Regions from separate parts of the Homo sapiens genome. Here all the other regions are linked to region 4. Evidence: promoter capture Hi-C in 16 types of primary human blood cells and fetal thymus (Javierre and others, 2016). All regions are on one chromosome and are shown on one strand. The core of a region is centred on a gene start or on the middle of the fragment in contact, and the rest is flanking DNA. Distances in the headings are between cores, read along the strand shown.

What was found. Contacts are between HindIII fragments. The CHiCAGO score rates a contact against its expected background, and 5 or more counts as called.
Region 1: a fragment that was not itself captured here is called in contact with the fragment with the promoter of NOS2 in region 4 in 6 of 17 cell types (erythroblasts, M0 macrophages, endothelial precursors and 3 more); the score reaches 8.8 in erythroblasts.
Region 2: a contact is called between a fragment that was not itself captured here and the fragment with the promoter of NOS2 in region 4, in 9 of 17 cell types (erythroblasts, M0 macrophages, megakaryocytes and 6 more). The highest score is 13.2, in erythroblasts.
Region 3: a fragment that was not itself captured here is called in contact with the fragment with the promoter of NOS2 in region 4 in 1 of 17 cell types (total CD8 T cells); the score reaches 6.5 in total CD8 T cells.
Region 5: a fragment that was not itself captured here is called in contact with the fragment with the promoter of NOS2 in region 4 in 6 of 17 cell types (erythroblasts, endothelial precursors, M2 macrophages and 3 more); the score reaches 9.2 in erythroblasts.
Region 6: a contact is called between a fragment that was not itself captured here and the fragment with the promoter of NOS2 in region 4, in 2 of 17 cell types (endothelial precursors and megakaryocytes). The highest score is 5.9, in endothelial precursors.
Region 7: a contact is called between a fragment that was not itself captured here and the fragment with the promoter of NOS2 in region 4, in 2 of 17 cell types (M0 macrophages and endothelial precursors). The highest score is 5.6, in M0 macrophages.

What each region holds. Positions count from the first base shown.
Region 1 is chr17:28,307,807-28,311,116 of GRCh38, reverse strand. No RefSeq gene overlaps it. Among named protein-coding and RNA genes, the nearest start is that of TMEM97, 9.7 kb to the left of the region's middle. The HindIII fragment of the contact is 3,560 bases long and covers 1-3,310 here.
Region 2 is chr17:28,273,866-28,277,107 of GRCh38, reverse strand. It overlaps the pseudogene KRT18P55. Among named protein-coding and RNA genes, the nearest start is that of TMEM97, 44 kb to the left of the region's middle. The HindIII fragment of the contact is 177 bases long and covers 1,789-1,965 here.
Region 3 is chr17:28,159,808-28,162,990 of GRCh38, reverse strand. It overlaps NLK (nemo like kinase), which reads right to left. Exons shown (of 11, transcript NM_016231.5): 4 at 1,725-1,831. Among named protein-coding and RNA genes, the nearest start is that of NLK, 120 kb to the right of the region's middle. The HindIII fragment of the contact is 390 bases long and covers 1,560-1,949 here.
Region 4 is chr17:27,798,272-27,801,863 of GRCh38, reverse strand. It overlaps NOS2 (nitric oxide synthase 2), which reads left to right and starts at 1,335. Exons shown (of 27, transcript NM_000625.4): 1 at 1,335-1,525; 2 at 2,982-3,164. The coding sequence starts at 3,055. RefSeq lists a cis regulatory region at 798-820, an enhancer at 1,133-1,161 and promoters at 1-1,371, 1,130-1,422, 305-1,422, 1-1,502. The HindIII fragment of the contact is 2,695 bases long and covers 709-3,403 here.
Region 5 is chr17:28,291,325-28,294,940 of GRCh38, reverse strand. It overlaps the pseudogene KRT18P55. Among named protein-coding and RNA genes, the nearest start is that of TMEM97, 26 kb to the left of the region's middle. The HindIII fragment of the contact is 3,020 bases long and covers 813-3,616 here.
Region 6 is chr17:28,183,705-28,187,035 of GRCh38, reverse strand. It overlaps NLK (nemo like kinase), which reads right to left. Exons shown (of 11, transcript NM_016231.5): 8 at 1,771-1,857. Among named protein-coding and RNA genes, the nearest start is that of TMEM97, 130 kb to the left of the region's middle. The HindIII fragment of the contact is 1,465 bases long and covers 1,110-2,574 here.
Region 7 is chr17:28,222,495-28,226,127 of GRCh38, reverse strand. The region is part of intron 1 of LOC105371710 (a long non-coding RNA gene); the gene reads left to right. Among named protein-coding and RNA genes, the nearest start is that of TMEM97, 95 kb to the left of the region's middle. The HindIII fragment of the contact is 7,934 bases long and covers 1-3,633 here.

The sequences.
Region 1 (3,310 bases), core at 499-2,998, 510 kb before region 4:
ATTTTTTATTTCATATATTGTGCTTTTGGGCTGTCTCTAAGAAAATATTTGTCTAGCCTGTGGTCGCAAAGATTTTCTTCTGTATTTTTCTTTTAGAATATTTCATTTTCAGTTTTACATTTAGGTCTGTAGCGCATTTTAAGTTAATTTTTTATTATGATTCAAAGTATGGATTGAGGCTCTTTTTTTGTTTTGCATATGGACACCGAGTTCTAGTGTCGTTTATTGAAAACACTATCATTTCTCTGTTGAATTCTCTTTGTACTTTTGTTGAAGATTAATCATAGATGTGTGGGTCTTTTTTTGGACTAAAACTCTAAAACTATATTATTAATCCTGATTTGTATTGCATCTGACAGATCCAGAATGATTTGAAAAGTTAATTAGCTAACAAATTTAGAAGTTTGTTAAGTGTCTTATTTGGAACCTGGCATTTGCTGACAGTAGTTTGTAATCTACAGAAGGGTTTTCTAAAATAACTTTAAGCCTAAGATTAAAAGAAGATTTTGCTAATGACTCATTATCTGTTTGGAAAAACTTGTGTGATTTTTCATGCAGTAGGGATGAGCTGAAATGGTTTTTCCTAGAAGATGCCCATTTTCTTTTTTGTAGAATTACTTGGTAGTTCTCTAATAATCTGTTTGTGCTTTATATCATCTTTGATAGTGATACATTTGGGGGCAGTTCTCTTTTTGTTTAAAAACCATCACGTAGTTGTCCTAAGTTAAATATTCTAGGCCAGACTTGATGGCTTATATCTGTAATCCCAGAATTTTGAGAGGCAGAGGCAGGAGGATCACTTGAGCCCAGGAGTTTGAGACCATCTGGGCAACAGAGTGAGACCGCTCTACAAAAATCAAAAACAGGTCGGGTGCGGTGGCTCAGGCCTGTAATCCCAGCACTCTGTGAGGCTGAGGTGGGCGGATCACCTGAGATCAAGAGTTTGAGACAAGCCTGGCCAAAAAAAAAAAAAAAAAAAAAGAGAAAAGAAAAAAAAGTAGTTGGCTGTGGTGGCGCATGCCTGTGATCCCAGTTACTCAGGAGGCTGAGGCAGGAGAGTTGCTTGAACCCAGTTGGTGGAGGATGCAGTGAGCCGAGATCGCGCCACTGCACTCCAGCCTGGGTGATGGAGCAAGACTCCATCTCAAAAAAAAAAAAAAAAAAAAATCAAGAACATATCCAGGCATGGTGGTACATTCCTGTTGTCCTAGCTGAGGTGGAAGGATTGCTTGAGCCCAGGAGTTCAAGGTTACAGTAAGCTATGATGGCCCCACTGCACTCCAGCCTGGGTAGCAGAGAGAGACTCTGTCTCTAAACAAACTAAAGGTTTAATTACTTTTTAAAAAGTAGTACACAATTATTGTTTTTAGGATGGATTTTTTTTTTTGACAGACTCTTGGTTTGCCACCTAGGCCTGAGTGCAGTGGCTTCATCAGCTCACTGCAGTCTTGAACCCCTGGGCTGAAGTGAGGCAGGAGCCTCAGCCTCCCGAGTAGCTAGGACTATAGGACTAGGAATACAGGCACATGCCACCACACCCAGCTAATTTTTTTGTAGAGACAAGGTCTCGCTATGTTGCCCAAGCTGAAGTCCAACTTCCTGGCCTCCAGCAATGAATGCTCCCACTTCGGCCTCCCAAAGTGCTAGAATTACAGGCGTGAGCCACTGTGCCTCGTCTATTCTTTTATCATTAAATTGTATAGACCTGTAGAGTGAAAGAATTGATATTCGGCTGTACATTGGTGTTCTATAATATAATAAGGTTTGAGCTAATCTCAGTATTTGAATATTTATTATTTAGTAATTTAGAAGTACTTTGCAATTAACACCTTTAAATTAACTTAAAATTTTAAATGTAGTAGAAATTAAAATGCCAAGAAGCAGGTGTTATTTAAAAAAAATCATTGGACAAAATATTGAGGTTAATTTAAGACAGACTTTCAGGATTAATAGCTATTTTAAATTTTTTAAAAATCATTTGTTGATGAGTGCTTTTTCTTATTCCTGAAATAACTACTCATAAGTCCTTTTTTATTTTTTTATTTTTAATTTTTATTTTTTTTTGGTCTTTGGAAAACATACTCCTGTCCCTTGCTATTCCATTTTTCTCCTTTTTTCCCCCTTTCTTCATTTGGATAGACTTTGCCATACAATTTTATTTTTATTATTTTTATGTGGTAAAATACACGTAATAAAATTTATCACTTTAACTGTTTTAAAGTATATAATTCAAGCCACGTGTAGTGGAGCCCGTAGTTCCGGCTAGTCAGGAGGCTGAGCCTGGGATCCTTGAGCCCAGGAGTTTGAAGACAGCCTGGGCAACATAGCGAGACCCCCTTCTCTTAAAGCAAAAGTATATAGTTTAGTGGCATTAAGTACATTAACAATATTGTATGACCATCACCACCACCATCTTGTTCTAGAACTTGTTCATCATTGCCACTTAATGTTAGCACCTAATTGTTCCCTAGTGTTTGGCTGCCATATTAAGTATTAGGTTTGTAAAGGATAAACAAGACTTAGTTCTTGTCCTCGAGGACTTCAGAGTCTAGTGAGAGAAACTTAACATTTATGATACAATGTGGCAAATTACATGCTAGAGTTCCCCATCACTGAATTTTATTTATTCAATTAGAATTTTTTTATATATTTACCAATGCATATATTTAATGAATCAGGCATACAATGCTCACCCATTCAGCAATTTCAGTGCTTTTCCTGTTTGCCTTGAAAATTTCATCCAGGAATTCACAAAGGAATACTCGATGAAGCCACATCATCAAATGGATTTTTCCCCAGGGAAGTCCAGTTTTTTTCCTTTTTTTTTTTATTATACTTTAAGTTCTGGGGTACATGTGCAATTCCTCAATTAGAATTTTAATTTTACCTTGAGAAAGCAAAGTAACTTTTTGTTAATATTCCGGTTATCGTATCATTCCACACACTGAATTCATTTAGGCTAGACCAAAAGACTGAAGTCTTTAGTCTTTTGACTTAGGTCATTGTGGGACTCACAAATCCTCATGCCCTATACTGTATTGCAAGAAGGGAACCAGAAAATTGACATTTTGATTTAGAACCAAATTATGAGCTATTCCTTCCTAATGAAGCAGGGAGATCTGTGAAAACTATGATTAGAGAGAACTTCTTAGTTGTCTGCAACTATCATTTGTTGAAACTGTTTTTACTTATTTTAGTTGCAGTGACAACTTGCTTATGATCAAATACAGTATTATATGGGTATGTTTATCTCTCTAGGCAGATCATCTTGATGAATAGTTGCTTTGGAAACTGTCAAGAGATTGTTTTT
Region 2 (3,242 bases), core at 628-3,127, 470 kb before region 4:
CCAGAATGAGAAGGAAACCATGCAAAGCCTCAACGACCACCTGGCCTCCTACCTGGACAGAGTTAGGAGCCTGGATACCAAGAACTGGAAGCTGGAGAGCCAGGAGCACCTGGAGAAGAAGGGACCCCAGGTCAGAGACTGGAGCCATGACTTCAAGACCATCGAGAACCTGAGGGCTCAGATCTTTGCAAATACTGTGGACAGTGCCCACATTGTTCTGCAGATCGACAATGCCTGTCTTGCTGGTGATGACTTTAGGGTCAAGTATGAGACAGAGCTGGCCATGTGCCAGTCTGTGGAGAGTGACATCCATGGGCTCCACAAGGTCATTGATGACACCAATGTCACTTGGCTGCAGCTGGAAGCAGAGATCAAGGCTCTCAAGGAGAAGCTGCTCTTCATGAAGAAGAACCATGAAGAGGAAGTAAAGGGCCTATAAGCCCAGATTGCCAGCTCTGGGTTGACTGTGGAGGTAGATGCCCCCAAATCTCATGACCTTGCCAAAATCTTGGCAGACATTGGGCCCAATATGACGAGCTGGCTCCGAAGAACTTAGAGGAGCTGGGCAAGTACTGGTCTCCGCAGATTGAGGAGAGCACCGCAGTTGTCACCACGCAGTCTGCCGAGGTTGGAGCTGCTGAGATGACGCTCACGGAGCTGAGACATACAGTCCAGTCCTTGGAGATCGACCTGGACTCCATGAGCAATCTGAAGGCCAGCTTGGAGAACAGCCTGAGGGAGGTGGAGGCCTGTTACACCCTGCGGACGGAGCAGCTCAACAGGATCCTGCTGCACTTGGAGTCAGAGCTGGCACAGACCCGGGCAGAGGGACAGCACTAGGCCCAGGAGTATGAGGCCCTGCTGAACATCAAGGTCAAGCTGGAGGCTGAGATCGCCACCTACCACCGCCTGCTGGAAGACAGTGAGGACTTCAATCTTTCAATCTTGGTGATGCCCTGGACAGCAGCAACTCCATGCAAACCATCCAAAAGACTACCACCTGCCGGATATTGGATGGCAAAGTGGTGTCTGAGACCAGTGATGCCAAAGTTCTGATACCTTAAGCCAGCAGAAGCAGGGGACCCTTTGGGGAGCAGGAGGCCAATAAAAAGTTCAGAGGTTAAAAAAAAAGAAAAAAAAAGAAAAAATATTGGCATTGTTATGGCATTAACAGCTATATATATGTACTTTTTTCAAAACAACATTTATAGCATAACTTGAATTTTCTATTTATTAGTATATACATTTTTCTTCTTTTGAAATGTGTATTTTCTAGTTTATTGGATATTGAAAACAATCTTTGATTTATCATTGTAATTTAAGTTCACTGTCTCTTTTCCAGCAATTATTCTTTTTTCTCTTTTGTGCAGTAGTAGAAAACAAAATCCAAGCAAGCATAGACCGGCAAGATATTCAGCTGTCTGGAAGTCTGGAGATTTTGTCCAGCAAGAAGCCCCCTAACAAAAGGCAGAATGCCAAACTGAGTGCTGACCTCTGACATGGCTCTGATACCCCAGGCCCATTAAGAGAGCCTTTTCTCCCAGCGGGGAGGTGATAGAATATTCTGAATTTTCTGTTGAAAAACTAAGACTATATGCAAAGAAAAATTCCCCCCAACGGGTGCAATTCTATCTGGATGATGCCGTCTCAAAATAAATAGCCTGTGAGGTTTGTGGCTTAGAAGACTTGTGACCCCATACCTCTTTGTGTCGTTTTGAAATTTTGCCTCCAGTTCTGTTTCTCTGACAAGACCCATGGCCACCTGCAGCCTAATGCTGCCATGAAGCTTTGTTCTGCTCTTTGGTTGCTGCTGGGTTCTTCTTGGATTGAAAAGAAAAATCACTTCAATCAGTCCATCTATAATGAAATACTGATCTAATGTTTGATACTCCACCATGAAATTAAAATGAAACCGCCCTTGCCACCTCCACCCCCAGCGCCTGTTTCCGAAAGTTTTATGAAGCTTCGTGGATGCTTTACCTCAAAGATGCCCTTGGGCTTCCTCCAGGAGAATGAAGAGGTCAGTGAACCTGCTTCCTGTCCCCTGTTCCCTGTCATGCATTCAGAATCAGAGAGCAGCAGATTCTGAAGTCAAGCTGCCAGAATCTCATGCGCTACCATCTCACCTTAACCACAGGCTACTTCTTTACTTTCAACATCACTGATCAAAATCAGATTTCATGGTGGGTGGGGGATAGTGGGGGGGTGGTGTAGGGAGAAGTAAGGAAATGCTGTCTTTTGTCAGTACAAAATCTGGCCCCCTCAGACTCTGCTGCCCTGAGTTAAATTTAATCTCTCTTTCCATCAATTCCAGTCAGGTTGAGCAGTTAAAGTATGATGTCTATCAACTGCAGACTGCTCTCAGAAACTTCCAGCACCAGTGCTATGCAAGGGAGCAGCAGGAGAGACAGCGAGAAGAGCTTCTGTCTCGAACCTTCACTGCTAACATAAGCCAGGCTTGCGGTGGGGGTCGGCCTGCACTTGACAGATTGTGGGGGCTGGAGTTCAGATCTCTGAGCGTCATCTTTTTTAGGGGGTATCTGAAAAAGATTGATGAGGAGGAAACCAACCCTAAATGACAGGGACTTTGTGCATTGCCACAGAGACTAGACCTAGACAGAAGAATCTCTTTTTCTAACACAAAAACCTGAAGAAGAAGCAGTTAAATTGAAGGGGAATAGGCAGAAGTGAAAATAACCTGGTTGGACTGGTCTGAGACAGAAAGGTGGAAATTCACATGGTGGAAACGTTTTTCTGATCAGATAGAGACAGATGGTTAGAATTTAGGCCATTTGTAGAGAAGGCAGCATTTCAAAGCTGCCTGCGCAGTTGCCATTGTGCCGAGTTTGTGTGTGGTTCCGGTGTCAGGTGCATTAAAATGTTTTTGTCCCTAGTCTGAGCAGCGATTTGAAGGAATTTGTTAATAGATATTTAGGGTTAGATGGACTGCTTGCCTGAGTGTGTCCGAAAGTGTGTTGGTTTCCACATTTGATTTCTCAGAACCCATTGTCCCCGTCTTTTAGTCTTAACCAGACCATTTCCTGAACGTGGCTGTAGAACATATTGGCCTTTTCTGTGTCATGCATAATATATTCCACCAAGTGTAGTGTGCTTTGGCTTTTTGTGTGTTTTTTTTTAGAGGTTTATTTTCCAGAGATGTTAACTTTCTAAGCCTGTTGTTAGAATTCACATCATTTCCCACTTTGCAGATGTTTAATCCTCAGTGCTTCATCCTTGCTTTG
Region 3 (3,183 bases), core at 505-3,004, 360 kb before region 4:
CTAAAGGTCCCAGCCTCAAGGTTGAGTCCTTTTTGTGTGCGTTTTTCTTTTTTTCTTTTCTTTTTTTTTTTTGAGACAGGGTCTCGCTCTGTAACCTAGGCAGGAGTGTGGTGGTATGATCACAGCTCACTGAAGCCTCGACCTTCCTGGCTCAAGCCATGCTCCCATCTCAGCCTCCTGAGAAGTGGGAACTACGGGCATGTACCACCATATCCGGCTAATGGGCTGAGTCTTTTTTGGATAAAATGTAGCAAATCACATTTTTCACAAGTACAAAAAGAGCCAATATCTTCCCCATTTTCCCCTACCATAGAATATGAACAAATCTTAGAGGTGAACGTTTTTGTTTTTTTTGAGACGGAGTCTCACTCTGTTGCCCAGGATGGAGTGCAGTGACGCGATCTTGGCTCCCTGCAGCCTCCACCTCCTGGGTTCACTCGATTCTCCTGCCTCAGCCTCCCAAGTAGCTGAGACTACAGGCGAGTGCCACCATGCCCAGCTAAGTTTTGTATTTTTTTAAAGTAGAGATGGAGTTTTGCCATGTTGGCCAGGCTGGTCTTGAATTCCTGACCTCAGATGATCTGCCCGCCTCAGCATCCCAAAGCGCTGGGATTACAGGCATGAATCACCATGCCTGGCCTGGAGGTGAGTTTTTTAGTTTTAATATTGCTTATGTGGCTGGGCGCAGTGGCTCACGCCTGTAATCCCAGCACTTTGGGAGGCCGAGGCAGGAGGATCACAAGGTCGGGAGATCAAGATCATCCTGGCTAATACGGTGAAACCCTGCCTCTACTAAAAATACAAAAAATTAGCTGGGCGTGGTGGCGGGCACCTGTAGTCCCAGCTACTTGGGAGGCTGAGGCAGGAGAATGGCGTGAACCTGGGAGGCGAATCTTGCAGTGAGCTGAGATCGCACCACTGCACTCTAGCCTAGGCGACAGAGCAAGACTCTGTCTGAAAAAAAAATTGCTTATGTGTTTTCATCCTTTTGGCATTTATTTTTCAATCTCTATAAAGAATCTCTTAATTCTATGAATTCTGGGGCAGGGGGAAAGTATTTTGCTTACTAGGTAAGAAAGCTGTTTCAGGTTTAAGCAATTCTCTACTTGTAATGGCAAAATTCTCATGGACATACTTGATGGCCAGAAGAAGTGTCAATAATGTTGGCCCAAATCCTTTCTCAGTCAAGTCTGTGCTCTTTAATGAGCTGTCTAGAATTTAGCTGGCTCTGTTTATTGGTCTTCCCAATCTACTTTGGTTTTAAGGGTCATTTTGTTTCTCTGGAGTTGGCTTCAGGTATGCCAGCCAATACTCAGACAGGCCCACCTACTGTTGGCTTGCAGGATGGACGTCATCCATAGGGGATATAGTCACTTTTCACTTTAGTCGTCTGATGCCACATATTCCTATTCCGTTGAAAACTAAAGGCTGTTTTGTGAACTTGTGACAAACCATCCTGCTTATTCACCTAGATTAGCCCACTCAACTGCCTAATGAATTTGACAGGGCTTTCTCTTTCATCACTGAAAACAAGAACTATTTGGCAACCCTAAAAAGCTTCCTCTTTAACATTAAATATAGAAATTATAAAATATGCTTTGGTCAAAAGAAAAAAGTCTTTAGAGAAGAAGAAAACCTTGGAAGATCGGATTAAAGTCTAAATGAGAAGCAAAACATTTCATTTACAGTGTGACAGCACCTTTTTCTTCATAAAGAAATCTTACCTCGCAAAATCTGATAAAGAAAAACTTTGACATGATCTGAGCTGAGTGGTTGAGGAGAGACGATAATTTTATGTAGGTCACTCTGCATCAATTCTGTGACAACATATCTTGAAGTTTTAAGTTAAGGAGAGTTCGGCGAATTCAGTCCCCTACCCCCTCAAAGTGGTGACCAGATCTAAAAAATAACTTCCATTCTCAAGGCTGGAAAAGTGGGGAAAGAAAGCTTCTAGACAGCGTGACAGAGGTGAGAATTCCAGCCCTCACAAAACACTACTAAAATCAAAAGAACTTACATGTTTAAAAGTCAGCAGAAGTAAACGACCAAATGATTTCCTTATAATCAGCATTATCAAAGAGAAAACCAAAGGTAAACATTTTAAATAACAGCCAGGCCAGGAAAAGTATGACGACCAAACAGTCTTAAGCTCTACTTAGACATATTACAGGAATGTCCTTTGAATCCAAACAAATGGGGATTGGTGATCTCATCTTAGGCCACCATGACACCAATGGAAAAGATCACAACCTATCCAAGGGCTGTGGCTTGTTACATTATAAAATATGGTATTCCTAAACACATGTAAAATAATTAGTTAAGTCTCTCCACAATCTTAGTAATTTAGTTCCTTTATTATTTAACTTTGTATATATTTATGAAACACCCCTCCCCACCATCACCACTAGATTTCGAGCGAGCTTCCTATACGTTGTACTCTGTTGTATGTTTAGGGTTTTGCTGAATGGACACATGGCCGATGATTAAAGGCTGGAGCCTGGGGAGCCATGGAGATATGCAATTCAAGACTCTTGTGAAGCACGTGTTAGATACATTAGGGAAGCAAAAGTATGGTAAATCTTATAATTTAAGTATTAAGTTTTCTTAAGGCAATTTCTAATTTAATGTTTTAGCAAAAACAAGTAGGAAAGGGGATAACTTGGGAACAGGGAGGAGAACTGATAATAACAGCCTTTGACAAAACAACTAAAAATTGTTTTTCAATTGTTTTCAAACTCCCTCCTCCTCGAGACATTTTTTCCAAATCGCTTTAGTCTCCTTCAATCATTGTACGTTGAAATGCCCCATGGCTGCTGGTCCTCACTCCTCTTCCCTATCCACACTCGTGGATACTCGGATCCAGTGCCATGCCTTTAAATAACATCCATGCTGCAGACTGCCAAATTTCTCTCTCTAGTTAATCTTTCCTTAAGTGCAGACTGGTATATCAAACTGCCTACCTATTTCCCCTGGATACCTAATTGACATTTCAAACTAACAAGTCCAAAACTGTCCAAATCTTTCTTAGTTGCTTGCACCACAAACCACATCAAGGAGTTATCCTTTACTCCCCGTTTCTCTTTCACCATACCTCCAATTCATCAGAAATCCTTCAAAATTTAGTCAGAATTAAGGCCACTTCTTATATCCACTGTTACTACTCTGGCCCAAGACTGCTAGATT
Region 4 (3,592 bases), core at 86-2,585:
CATTCATCCACACATTCACTCAACAAAGATCCTTGAGCTCTGATATCCATGTCTTTTTTGTGGCTCTTAGTTTATCTTTGACAAAGTTAATATATTATGCTGAATTTAACTTGGGAAAGACAAGAAGGAAATGAGTGGACAGTGGTAGCAAAGTGTTGGGACGGTGAGATCAAGGGTGACTTTTTTTCCCTTTGCTTCTCAACTTCTCCCTAATGTAGTTGTTATTTTACTTTTATGATGGAAAAATGCATATGTATGGGAATACTGTATTTCAGGCATTATAAGGAATGAAATTATAGGCCGGGCATGGTGGCTAACCCTTGTAATCCTAGCACTTTGAGAGGCTGAAGTGGGCAGATCACTTGAGCTTCAGAGTTCGAGACCAGCATGGACAACATGGTGAAACCCAGTCTCTACCAAAAACACAAAAATATTAGCTGGGTGTGGTGGTGCATGCCTGTAGTCCCAGCTACTCAGGAGGCTGAGGTGGGAGGATCGCTTGAGCCTGGGAGGCAGAAGTTGCAATGAGCAGAGATCGTGCCACTCCGCTCCAGTCTTGGTGACAGAATGAGACTCCATCTCAAAAATAAATAAATAAATAAAATAAATGAAATGAAATTATAAGAAATTACCACTTTTTCATGTAAGAAGTGATCATTTCCATTATAAGGGAAGGAATTTAATCCTACCTGCCATTCCACCAAAGCTTACCTAGTGCTAAAGGATGAGGTGTTAGTAAGACCAACATCTCAGAGGCCTCTCTGTGCCAATAGCCTTCCTTCCTTTCCCTTCCAAAAACCTCAAGTGACTAGTTCAGAGGCCTGTCTGGAATAATGGCATCATCTAATATCACTGGCCTTCTGGAACCTGGGCATTTTCCAGTGTGTTCCATACTGTCAATATTCCCCCAGCTTCCTGGACTCCTGTCACAAGCTGGAAAAGTGAGAGGATGGACAGGGATTAACCAGAGAGCTCCCTGCTGAGGAAAAAATCTCCCAGATGCTGAAAGTGAGGCCATGTGGCTTGGCCAAATAAAACCTGGCTCCGTGGTGCCTCTATCTTAGCAGCCACCCTGCTGATGAACTGCCACCTTGGACTTGGGACCAGAAAGAGGTGGGTTGGGTGAAGAGGCACCACACAGAGTGATGTAACAGCAAGATCAGGTCACCCACAGGCCCTGGCAGTCACAGTCATAAATTAGCTAACTGTACACAAGCTGGGGACACTCCCTTTGGAAACCAAAAAAAAAAAAAAAAAAAAGAGACCTTTATGCAAAAACAACTCTCTGGATGGCATGGGGTGAGTATAAATACTTCTTGGCTGCCAGTGTGTTCATAACTTTGTAGCGAGTCGAAAACTGAGGCTCCGGCCGCAGAGAACTCAGCCTCATTCCTGCTTTAAAATCTCTCGGCCACCTTTGATGAGGGGACTGGGCAGTTCTAGACAGTCCCGAAGTTCTCAAGGCACAGGTCTCTTCCTGGTTTGACTGTCCTTACCCCGGGGAGGCAGTGCAGCCAGCTGCAAGGTGAGTTGCCTTCATTTCTGGGGAAGCGGCTGTTTTGAGAGGGTTTTGTTTCTTCCTCTTTGAGAAGGCTCAGAAAATTGTGGGAATTTTCTGCCTACAGAGAGAAGGTGTTGGAAAGTCTAGGTAAAAAAATGCCGACATGAGGTTTGGTCATTTGAACATGGCATCTTGGTCAGATTTCTTTTCTGCAAATATTAGCTGTGGTTGTTACATGACAAGGAAAAACTTTCTGAAAAGTTCAAAATGGGAGTTTGTATCTGCTAAGAATTTTTTTTAACAGAGATTATCTTATCAGTCCTTATAACATGTAACCTCCCCACAAATCCTGGTAAGATGGATATATTAAACCCATTTTATGGATGAATAAATGAGTTTCAGTTAAATAACTTGATCCAGGACACATAACTGGTAGAGCTAGGATTCCAGGATTTGAACCCAGGTCTATGGGGCTATAAGTTCTTTTCTTTCTTTCCCTCTTTCCTTCCTTTCCTTCCTGTCCTTTCCTCCCTTCCCCTCCCTTCCCTTCCCTTTCTTTCTTTTTTTTTTTTGGAAACAGCCTTGACTGCCCAGCCTCAAGCAATCCTTCTGCCTCAGCCTCCCGAGTAGCTGGGACTACAGGCACAAGACACCATGCCTGCCTGGCTAATTTTTCAATTTTTTGTAGTCAAGGTCTCCCTATGTTGCCCAGGCTGAACTCGAACTCTTGGACTCAAGCGATCCTCCTGCCTCGGTCTCCCGAAATGCTGGGATTACAGGCGTGAGCCACTGCACTTGGCCTAAAATTCTTACATGGACTATATTCACTACACTGTCTTCTAAAGACAGAGTTTTTGCCTCTTTGATCTTCCTCTTGTCTGTTTCAAAGGAGATGATCTCAGATTTCGAGGGATGAGTGCATTTTTCACAAATATTTCCTCCCCACATAATAAAAGAGGAGCAAGTAATAATGCTGAGTTAGAACAACAACTGCAAAATCTTTAAAAGAAAGGTAGCTACAGCTTGAGTGCTTTCCCCAGTAATAGACCTAAAACTACAGTTGATAATGAGAGCTGCTGGGAAGTGTCTTTCAGGGTCAGGCAAAGGCACCCCTGTTTCAACGACCTCCGGGCTCTTCCTCACCCTGCCTGTGGCCAGTGATGAAGCCTGGCTGGGTCTGGTGGGCCAGCAGGTCCCGCTAAGGAGGCTCATGGTGCATACAGTTTGTCCTTGTTAAGTGGCGATGGGGATGGGGGGGTTCATTGTTTTTCCTTAAGATTATTAGGTGGCTTTACAGAATTGAAGTCTGTGTCCGAAGGCTCCCCATTCCAACCCCGAAATAGAGACAGAGGTTGCAAAGCATTGATGAAGGGGCTCATGCTGGCGTTCATATCGATTCCCCAGTGAGCCAACCCCACTGAGAAGCCCTGTTCTGTAAACTCTTCTTCAACCTTCCCTCACCTCTGCTTCCCTTCTTCAGCCCCACAGTGAAGAACATCTGAGCTCAAATCCAGATAAGTGACATAAGTGACCTGCTTTGTAAAGCCATAGAGATGGCCTGTCCTTGGAAATTTCTGTTCAAGACCAAATTCCACCAGTATGCAATGAATGGGGAAAAAGACATCAACAACAATGTGGAGAAAGCCCCCTGTGCCACCTCCAGGTGAGTTTTCCCTGGGGGAACCTCCTGCTTGTCTCCTTGGGCACCCATGCCCTGTCGGCACCGATGACTCAGAATTCCTCTCTCTGCTCCTCCTCTCTCACCTGAGGTCTGATCTCCTCATTGCTTCTTGAAAGTCCCTGTTGGAATTCAATGCAGCCGCTGATTATTGGGCACCTCGCTGTGCCTGACGGTATGTGAAGAAGGAAGGGACATGGTGCGGGGCTGGCCCTGAAGAAGCTTGGAATCTTTGGGGAAGAATATGGGAAGGAGCTTGGCCTGAGAATGGGAGGCAGTAGAGCCTCGTGGTGGGCACCATGGCGGAGGGGTGGGGGTGGAGGGTCAGCATCCTGGCCTGCGTCCATTCCAATTCACCGCTTGCTAGATGCTTTGAATATCATCCTGGTGAAGGGCATCAGGATGTTAGACAA
Region 5 (3,616 bases), core at 1,073-3,572, 490 kb before region 4:
CACCTGGCTAGACCGCAGATTTTGTAAGAGCCCAGGAGAGAGAAGATAATGAAGACTGAAATAGAGTTGGCTTTTTGATAGAATTTGTCCCATTGGTTTGCATAGTTGTAAGTGTTGGGTTGAACTGAATGGAAGTGATTGCTTTAGAAGAAGACCAGAAGACTAGATTTGCTTTTCCCTCCAATTTGAAATACCACTTCTATTCCAGGACACCCAGGAGCATTGTTGATTGTTACTCTCTTTGTTCAGGCACACAAGGTGGGGCCGTTTCATAGTAGCTAGCAAATCTGTTTGAATCCCAGAATGTTCATTTTAAGCATCAGAGACTTTAAAGTACAATCAGAATCTGCAGAGAGGAAAGGAGGGGGAAGAGATAGATAATGTATTTAAGAGAGCATAGGTAAATGGCTACTCATCTACTTTGAGTGATCCAAAATTATTATCAATTTTTGTTTTTAAGGAGATTTTAGGCAGGGTGCTGTGGCTCATGCCTGTAATCTCAGCACTTTGGGAGGCTGAGGCAGGAGGATCACCTGAGCTCAGTGAGACCAGCCTAGGCAACATAGTGAGACCCCATCTCTGTCTTCTCTTATGCCCCCCCCCAAAATTAGTTGGGCATGGTGGTGCATGCCCGTGGTCCGAGTTACTCAGGAGGCTTGAGGTGGGAGGATTGCTTGAGCCCGGAAGGTCGAAGCTGCCGTGAGCCATTATTGCACCACTGGGCTCCAGCCTGCGTGACAGAGTGAGACCCTGTCTCAAAAAAAAGGAAATAAAAAAGAAGAACAGTTTAGAATTTTGGTTCTCTTTAAGCTTTGACCTTCTTGAAAAGAGGAATAGGTTTTCTCTATATTTTACCTCCATCTCCATGGTAACAGGTATATATAGTAAGTACTCAATAACACATAAATCTATTCATTTAAAAATACAAGGGAAATTTAAAGCTCATTTGAAGTTTTTTTTTCTTTTTAATTGTTAAAAAATACGTAACATAGCCAGGTGCAGTGGCTAGCACCTGTAATCCCAGCACTTTGGGAAGCTGAGACAGAAGGATTACTTGAGGCCAGGAGTTGAGACCAGCCTGGGCAATATAGCAAGACCCCATCTCTACAAAAAAAATTAAATTGGCTGGGCTTGGTGGCACACACATGAAGTCCCAGCTACTAGGGAGGTTGAGGTGGGAGGATCACTTGAGCCCAGGAGTTGAGGGATGCAGTGAGCTATGATTGGGCCATTGCACTCCAGCCTGGGTGACAGAGCGAGACCCTGTCTCTGCTTAAAAAAAAAAAAGAATTCCCCCTTTCCAAAACATATAGCATAAAATTTACCATCTTAACCATTTTTAAGTGTACAGTTCTGTATGTTAAGTATATTCACATGTTGGTGTGAAGTCCATCTGTTTTAAATGGTTAGTGTCTTTATTCTCCAAAAAGAATGGAGCCTTATTCTGTTTCCAACATTAAGAATTGAGTTTGTTTCATAACTGGCTGTTTATTTCCTAGTGTCAGATTCAACAGTGTGCAGGCATTGTGCTGGTTTCTCTCACGTATCTCCTTCTGTAGCACCCACATAATTTTACCTAGAATATATCCACATTTATGGCATATTGAAACAAGTTATGACAGATTTCTTTAACTGTACTAAACCTTTGCTATAAATAACCACTCAAGAAAGCCCTGTCACTCTGGTGTAAACAGTCATGCCTTCTTGTTTTTTTTGTTTTTGTTTTTGTTTGTTTTGTTTGAGATGGAGTCTCACTCTGTCACCCAGACTGGAGTGCAATGACGCGATCTCGGCTCACTGCAGCCTCCGCCTCCCAGGTTCAAGCGATTCTCCCACCTCTGCCTCCCAAGTAGCCAGGACTATAGGTGGCGTGCTAACACATCCGGCTAATTTTTGTATTTTTAGTAGAGATGGAGTTTCACTATGTTGGCCAGGCTGGTCCCGAACTCCTGACCTCGTGATCCGCCCATCTTGGCCTCCCAAAGTGCTGGGATTGCAGGCTTGAGCCACCGCACCCAGCCGCCTTCTTGGTATTTTATAGACTAGGCATTGCATGTAATTTCTGGGCTTATGCTTTTGTAAGCTCTTTGCATTGACTAGTTTATTGTCAACTTGCCTTTTTATTTGAGTTTAGGACTCTAACATATCTAACACGCAACCATCCACTAAAATTTTAAGCCTGGTCTCTTTGGGCTTTCTTTATCAAAGGCTTAAAAATTATCTTGACCCATGCAAGGCTTTTGCCAACAAAAGTTGCAGTCCTTGAGGCTCCAATGCCAATATCTTGTCACTGGATAGATGGGAGAATAGGGCGTGCAGACTCTGAAGTGAAGTTATCTGTGGCAGGATACAAATTGAACTTTGTAAACTGAGTTTATTTTTGTACTTCTATTTTCATATTCATGTTTTGTTCTCCCTTAGTATTTGCTAAAATATTTCAGAAGTTTTAAAAAAATTATCATATGTGGCAGATAAGTGATTGTTAGTATTAAAAAATAAAAGACCTGCAGAAAATATATGTTGACAAGATATCTGAAGGAAACAACACAAAGAAAGCACAACTGATGAGAAATATTATGAACAATTATTTATTGTAGAAGCAGAAGATGTGTTTAATTCAGAGTAAAGCAAGAGTGAATGATAGTTGTATTTTGTAGCAGTTGGACTAGATTCAGTTCTGGAAATTGTTTTATAACCTTTTGGCAGTTTTGAAATGAAATGTAGTTCAACATTTTTATTTTTCTGTGAAATACATTTAGTCAGTAGGTGTAGCCCAGTAGGTGTAGACTTACATTGTCTAAGAACTGTTTGATGATTTGGCTGAGTCTTTGGTCACAGACAAAAGTTTAGCCCCTGGGAAAAATAAGTGGGATCTGATATTATTTCATATCTCACCCTGTCTAGAAGTTTCGATCAGTACATTTAGACAACCAACAAATATTTACTGACCTAACACTACATTCTAGTTATACCAGCTGTAAATACTGTATGACAAGGAGAGAGTAGATAAGATGGTTCCTGACCTTCAGGTTTATTTTCCAGTCTCCCAAGCCTTATTTGTTTAAACTGCTGTAGACCTTTGAAGTTTCCTTAAAGCCAAGGATGTTTTCTACTTCTGTGTACTCCTTTCATGCTTAGAATTAAGTATGTGATTGGTCTGAATATTTAATTGAAAAATCGTTTCAACCTCCTTGTGAGTAGGAAGTCTCATTAATTTTTGCATAAAAGTACTTGGTGCAGGATATAAAAGCAGAGTGCTAATATTTGGAAATATGAGATCTGGGTTTGAGTTTGGCACTACCAATTCCTATAAGTAAAGGGACAAGGTACCACCACTGAATTATTTTCCTCAGCAATAAATGGAAATTAAAATCTCTACCCATCTTCTTAAAGAGTAGTTATGAAGACAAAGTAAGTGAACTCACATTATACAAACTGTAAAAGTGCCATATAAATGCTTATTATTAATACCTATTGTATAGTACATAGTTATTTTAACTGAATTAGAGATAATCCATCCTTAGGTCTTCCAAGTCTAACAACAGTACTAGTTAATATGCTTTGTATGTGATAGATGTTGGACTTCAGGATCTGTGCTTTTAATGTTATATGTGTT
Region 6 (3,331 bases), core at 593-3,092, 380 kb before region 4:
ATTGATCAACATCTTCTGTTAGTTATGTAGATAAACTTACCAAATAACACAAAATATCAAATGATAGTAAATCACTAGCTCAATAAAGCAAGTTATATGATTGAAATTGTCCTTAATAGTGGGAACTTGATCACAAAGAGAGACTGTGGGAGCAAGAACTGCCACTTTGTCAGGCTTATAGTATCACTAAGCACTTCACATACCACATGGTATGGTTTGGCTGTGTCCCCACCCAAATCTCATCTTGAATTCCCACATGCTACGGGAGGGACCTAGGAGGTAACTGAATGATGGGGGCAGGTCTTTCCTGTGCTGTTCTCGTGATAGTGAATAAGTCTCATGAGATCTGACCAGATTAAAAAGGGGTGTTTCCCTGCACAAGCTCTCTCTCTTTGCCTGCTGCCATCCATATAGACATGACTTGCTCCTCCTCACCTCCCGCCATGATTGTGAGGCTTCCCCAGCCATGTGGAACTTTAAGGTTTAAGTCCAATTAAACCTCTTTCTTTTGTAAATTGCCCAGTCTTGGGTATGTCTTTATCAGCAGTGTAAAAACAGACTAATACACCACAGTAAAAAAACAAAAAAGAAAACAACAGCAAAAAACACCAAAATAAACACATAAGCAATCTAAATTGTACCCTGAGACATTACAAAAATAATTTGGGTCACCCTAATTGGTTCTGGTCCCCCAAATAAAAAAACCTTGACTGTTTCTCACAAACCTGAACTCCTTAACAGAATTATTTTTATCCCTAATCTTTGCTGTGCTGATGTCTGAAGCTTTGTGAATTTGATATCTTCTGAGAAAGTTGCAGCTTTCTCACTACAAATGGACCAATGTAAACTTAATAACTTTGGTAATTTTGTGGTTGTTTTATCTTTTAAATATCTGGTATTTTTCGTATTTGGTGACTTTGTATTCTTGGCAAGTTAAATTTTCTTTACTAAATGCTTCCATTTTTAAGTCTTCTTTGACAATAGTTATTGGCATAGATGTGAATAATAAATATTCTTTGGATGAATGAATAAATGAAGAGCTGAACTTACAGTATAATTTGTAGTATGTTCCAGAAGAGTCAAGTCCAGAAAGGGTATTGGGAAAAGCTTCCATCTCAACAACACAGAGCAAACATTTCCTTATGCAATATAATGGTCAGATTTTTTTTTCAAATAACCTTAAAAAACTTTGTGTCCTGGCCGGGCGCGGTGGCTCACATCTGTAATCCCAGCACTTTGCGGGGCTGAGGCAAAAGGATCACTTGACTCCAGGAGTTCAAACCAGCCTGGGCAATATAGTGAGACCTCTTCTCTACAAAATATTTAGAAATTAGCTGAGCATGCTTGTAGTCCCAGATACTCAGGGGGCTCGGGTAGGAGGATTGCTTGGGCCTGGGAGGTTGAGGGTACAGTGAGCTGAGATCACACCTCTGCACTCCAGCCTGGGTGACAGAGCAAGACCTTGTCTCAAAACAAAAAATCATTTTGTCTTGACTTAACTTGGTGTCAAACTCCTTTTACAAATAATGAGATAAATAAGAAATAAGAGTTAAATAAGATCCAGCTCCTTATCTCTTCCCTTAGACTCTTATGTGTTAATAATCAAACTTCTGTGTGATGAGCGTGCATGATACACATGATACTGGGGATTGAAGTTTATATTCTGAAAAGTAATTATTTACATTGCCAATCTATTCAAAACCACAATGTTTCTCTCGAACACATGTATTTGTAATTCATTAAAAATATATAAAAAAAAACACTACTTACTGGATCAAAGACCAACATCCTGCAAAGGAGATGAACAGCTTCATGTGTAGCCTGGCTAGACAGGGTATAGAGTACAGGAAGAGATGGCTGTGAAAAAATTAAAAATTCAAATATTTAAGTGAGTCTTTGTGTAAACAGCTATGGAATACAGCCAATTTATGATAAGGTAAGTACTCAGTTCAAAAGGCAATGTGTGTCTAAACTCAAGGAGAATGAGTTTTCCCTTCAGTAACCAGTCTTCAAAAGCAACAATTGTTACTAACTTCCCGTAGCATTTTTATTTATTTATTTATTTACTTATTTTTATTTTTATTTTTTGATATGGATTCTCGCTCTCTCACCCAGGCTAGGGTGCAGTGGCGCCATCTTGGTTCACTGCAACCTCCGCCTTCCAGGTTCAAGTGATTCTTCTGTGGTCATCCTCCCGAGTAGCTGGGATTACAGGCATGTGCCATCACGCTTGGGTAATTTTGTATTTTTAGTAGAGAAGGGGTTTTGCCATGTTGGCCAGGCTGGTCTCGAACCCCTGACCTCAAGTGATCTGCCTGCCTCGGCCTCCCAAAGTGCTGGGATTACAGGCGTGAGCCACCACGTCCATCCCCGTAGATTTTTACATTGCATGATTACCCACTGTAGGGGAAAGCACAAAAGAGTCTATAAAAAAATGAAAACGAATTGCAAATATGGCACTCCTGCTAGCCATCTTTTTTTTTAAAGAGGAGAAAAGGCATACACATTTATTTATCGTGCGTACACGGGAGGCTTCCAAATAAAGCCCCAAACCCCCAATGAGGTACAGAAGCTTGAGTTTATAGAAACAATGTGGGATCAGAGCATGGCCAAAAATGGGTTTTAGTTAGCCTTACATCTTAAATGCTTTGGCAAGAATGATAATCAAACATGCCTAGGGGTGGGAGAGAAAAGATTGAAAGGTTTTAAAACCTGGGCCACATGCAAAGCATGTAAACTATAAGAATGTGAACTATGTCTTATGACATTACCATAAAGGTGCTGAGATATTAGTCCTAAAGGAGCCAAAGGACATGCAAGAACTTACAGAACCTGTAAGAAAGTACACCATTGGTTTTGATGGTTCAATCTGAATGGCCTTTAGCATTGATTTCTCACTCAAGAATTGCCTTCATAAGTGGTAGGCATATCCACATGGCCATATCTGACTTCTGTGAAGCAGGGAGGTGGCTTTAATGACCTGAGAAGCCATAGAGCTTATAAAGCTTCCATTTCACTGCTAGAAGCGTCAGGGGACAGAGCAGGTAAATGGCATCATTGCTCTGTCTCTCACACAAGTAAATTATTTATCTCTAACATAAAAAAGGCAGAATTAAGGAAGGTGACAAAAAATGTTTAGAGACTCCTTTTCTTCCCATGCTTAATACAACCTTTAGCAGAGAATTTTTTCCTCAAGCTTTGAAAGTTCTAGACTTATGGCCAAATTATTATCGGCTTGACTTTCATACCACTTAAAAAAAAACAAAAAACTAATCTCTTAGTGGGGTAAATGATTTTCCTAATGGGTTTTAGACCTGCCGTCTACTTATAA
Region 7 (3,633 bases), core at 167-2,666, 420 kb before region 4:
AAGCAGCTGAGTCAGCTACCTGTGTATCCAGCCTGGCACACAAAGACCCTGGTCCAGCCATGTGTGGCATAGAGCCCTCTCCCCAGGCAATGTCCCCACCCCTATGCAGGTGTCAATCAGGGCACTGGTGTCTTCTGGGCCTGAGTGATGCCAAGCCTTCCCAAGCACATGCCACTGTCCCCAGCCCATGGCAGTCTCCACTGGGCTCTGAAGCCCAGATCCTTTGAAGGAAAGGACTCATGTTTATTAAGCACCTACTGTGCACCGGGTAGTACATAATTTCGGACATCACAAAACAATGAGCTGAGTTTATCTCCATTTTCCAGATGAGGAAATTGAAGCCCTGATGAAGCAGCCAAAGTCACCCATGATTCAAACAGGAAAAGGAGGGTGAGGCAGACCCCAGGAAGAGGACCTCTCAATTGTGAGGGGCAGAAAGCCTCAGCACCTGGAGTAGCCATGTGGTGCCGGAGGCAGGCCTGGGAGCAGGGACCGGAAGCCTAAGTCTGGGGCCCACCACCCACTATGAGAGGCTGAGTAGGGGAAGGGCCTCCAGAATGCCAACCCCCTCAAACCCACCTGCCCAGTAGGAGAGAGGGCTGTGGGAAGGTCTCTCCATAAAGCCCTTCCAGCTTCCTCTCCCTGGCCTGGCCAGACCTCCAGTACTTCCAGATGTCCCATCAACCCATGGGGGCTGAAGGGGCCAACTTGTCCAGGCCGCTGGTTCTGAGCCAGCCCCTCCAGCCCCAGGACAGATGGCTGTGGGTGCTATTTTTAGAGCTCTCCTGAGAGGGAGAGTTCAGGGCTCTCTCAGTCACTCTTTTTTTTTTTTTTTTTTAAATTTATTTTTTTATTGATAATTCTTGGGTGTTTCTCACAGAGGGGGATTTGGCAGGGTCATGGGACAATAGTGGAGGGAAGGTCAGCAGATAAACAAGTGAACAAAGGTCTCTGGTTTTCCTAGGCAGAGGACCCTGCGGCCTTCCGCAGTGTTTGTGTCCCTGATTACTTGAGATTAGGGAGTGGTGATGACTCTTAACGAGCATGCTGCCTTCAAGCATCTGTTTAACAAAGCACATCTTGCACCACCCTTAATCCTTTTAACCCTGAGTGGACACAGCACATGTTTCAGAGAGCACAGGGTTGGGGGTAAGGTCACAGATCAACAGGATCCCAAGGCAGAGGAATTTTTCTTAGTGCAGAACAAAATGAAAAGTCTCCCATGTCTACTTCTTTCTACACAGACAGGGCAACCATCCGATTTCTCAATCTTTTCCCCACCTTTCCCGCCTTTCCATTCCACAAAGCCGCCATTGTCATCCTGGCCCGTTCTCAATGAGCTGTTGGGCACACCTCCCAGACGGGGTGGTGGCCGGGCAGAGGGGCTCCTCACTTCCCAGTAGGGGCGGCCGGGCAGAGGCGCCCCTCACCTCCCGGATGGGGCGGCTGGCCGGGCAGGGGGGCTGACCCCCCCACCTCCCTCCCGGACGGGGCGGCTGGCCGGGCGGGGGGCTGACGCCCCCACCTCCCTCCCGGATGGGGCGGCTGGCCGGGCAGAGGGGCTCCTCACTTCCCAGTAGGGGCGGCCGGGCAGAGGCGCCCCTCACCTCCCGGACGGGGCGGCTGGCCGGGCAGGGGGGCTGACCGCCCCCAACTCCCTCCCGGACGGGGCGGCTGGCCGGGCGGGGGGCTGACCCCCCCACCTCCCTCCTGGACGGAGCGGCTGGCCGGGCGGGGGGCCGACACCCCCACCTCCCTCCCGGGCGGGGCGGCTGGCCAGGCGGGGGGCCGACCCCCCCACCTCCCTCCCGGAAGGGGCGGCTGGCCGGGCGGGGGGCGGACCCCCCCACCTCCCTCCCGGATGGGGCGGCTGGCCGGGCAGAGGGGCTCCTCACTTCCCAGTAGGGGCAGCCGGGCAGAGGCGCCCCTCACCTCCCAGACGGGGCGGCTGGCCGGGCGGAGGGCTGACCCCCCCACCTCCCTCCCGGACAGGGCGGCTGGCCGGGCGGGGGGCTGACCCCCCCACCTCCCTCCCGGACGGGGCGGCTGGCCGGGCAGAGGGGCTCCTCACTTCCCAGTAGGGGCGGCCGGGCAGAGGCGCCCCTCACCTCCCAGACGGGGCGGCTGGCCGGGCGGGGGGCTGACCCCCCCCCACCTCCCTCCCGGACGGGGTGGCTGCTGGGCGGAGACGCTCCTCACTTCCCAGATGGGGTGGCTGCCGGGCGGAGAGGCTCCTCACTTCTCAGACGGGGCAGCTGCCGGGCGGAGGGGCTCCTCACTTCTCAGACGGGGTGGTTGCCAGGCAGAGGGTCTCCTCACTTCTCAGACGGGGCGGCCGGGCAGAGACGCTCGTCACCTCCCAGACGGGGTCTCGGCCGGGCAGAGGCGCTCCTCACATCCCAGATGGGGCGGCGGGGCAGAGGCGCTCCCCACATCTCAGACAATGGGCGGCGGGGCAGAGACGCTCCTCACTTCCTAGATGTGACGGCGGCTGGGAAGAGGCGCTCCTCACTTCCTAGATGGGATGGCGGCCGGGCGGAGATGCTCCTCACTTTCCAGACTGGGCAGCCAGGCAGAGGGGCTCCTCACATCCCAGACGATGGGCGGCCAGGCAGAGACACTCCTCACTTCCCAGACGGGGTGGCGGCCGGGCAGAGGCTGCAATCTCGGCACTTTGGGAGGCCAAGGCAGGCGGCTGGGAGGTGTAGGTTGTAGTGAGCCGAGATCACGCCACTGCACTCCAGCCTGGGCACCATTGAGCACTGAGTGAACGAGACTCCGTCTGCAATCCCGGCACCTCGGGAGGCCGAGGTTGGCGGATCACTCGCGGTTAGGGGCTGGAGACCGGCCCGGCCAACACAGCGAAACCCCGTCTCCACCAAAACCAGTCAGGCGTGGCGGCGCGTGCCTGCAATCGCAGGCACTCGGCAGGCTGAGGCAGGAGAATCAGGCAGGGAGGTTGCAGTGAGCCGAGATGGCAGCAGTACAGTCCAGCTTCGGCCCCGCATGAGAGGGAGACCGTGGGGAGACGGAGAGGGAGACGGAGAGGGAGACGGAGAGGGAGAGGGAGAGGGAGAGGGAGAGGGAGAGCAACAAGCTCTTAAACATGTGAGAATCCTTTGTGGTCATTTGTTACAGCAGCCCCAGGAAACTCTCAGTCACTCTTTTATGGGTTCAATCACCTGCATTCTCCGCAGATGGCTCCTTATCAGCCAGTCAGGCCCCATGGGACCACACATCCCAGGAAACACCAGGGTGCCCTGCTGAGCATGGAGGTGGAAGAGGACACCAGGACAAGGGGACATAGATCCTACCTTTGAAGGAAGGAGAAAAATCATTCTTCTTAGGGACCCCTCATCCAGGGGGCAAGGCACGGCCCTGTCCTTCAAGAACTCCAGTCTCAAAGAAAGGACATGGCTGTATCATGGGGGATCCTCAGTCTGAGGCGTTCTCAGAACACAGATACAGAGAGACAAACAGAGAGACAGCTGTTGTCCTGTTTGGAGGGGTGACAGCAGAAATCAAAGAATTCCACTCCTCCATGGAAAGACAAAAGACAGGTGCTCACCCTGGGATGGAGGGGGCAGTGGGAGCCTGTTAGTACATCTGTGATCCCAGGGGTCAGGGCCTACA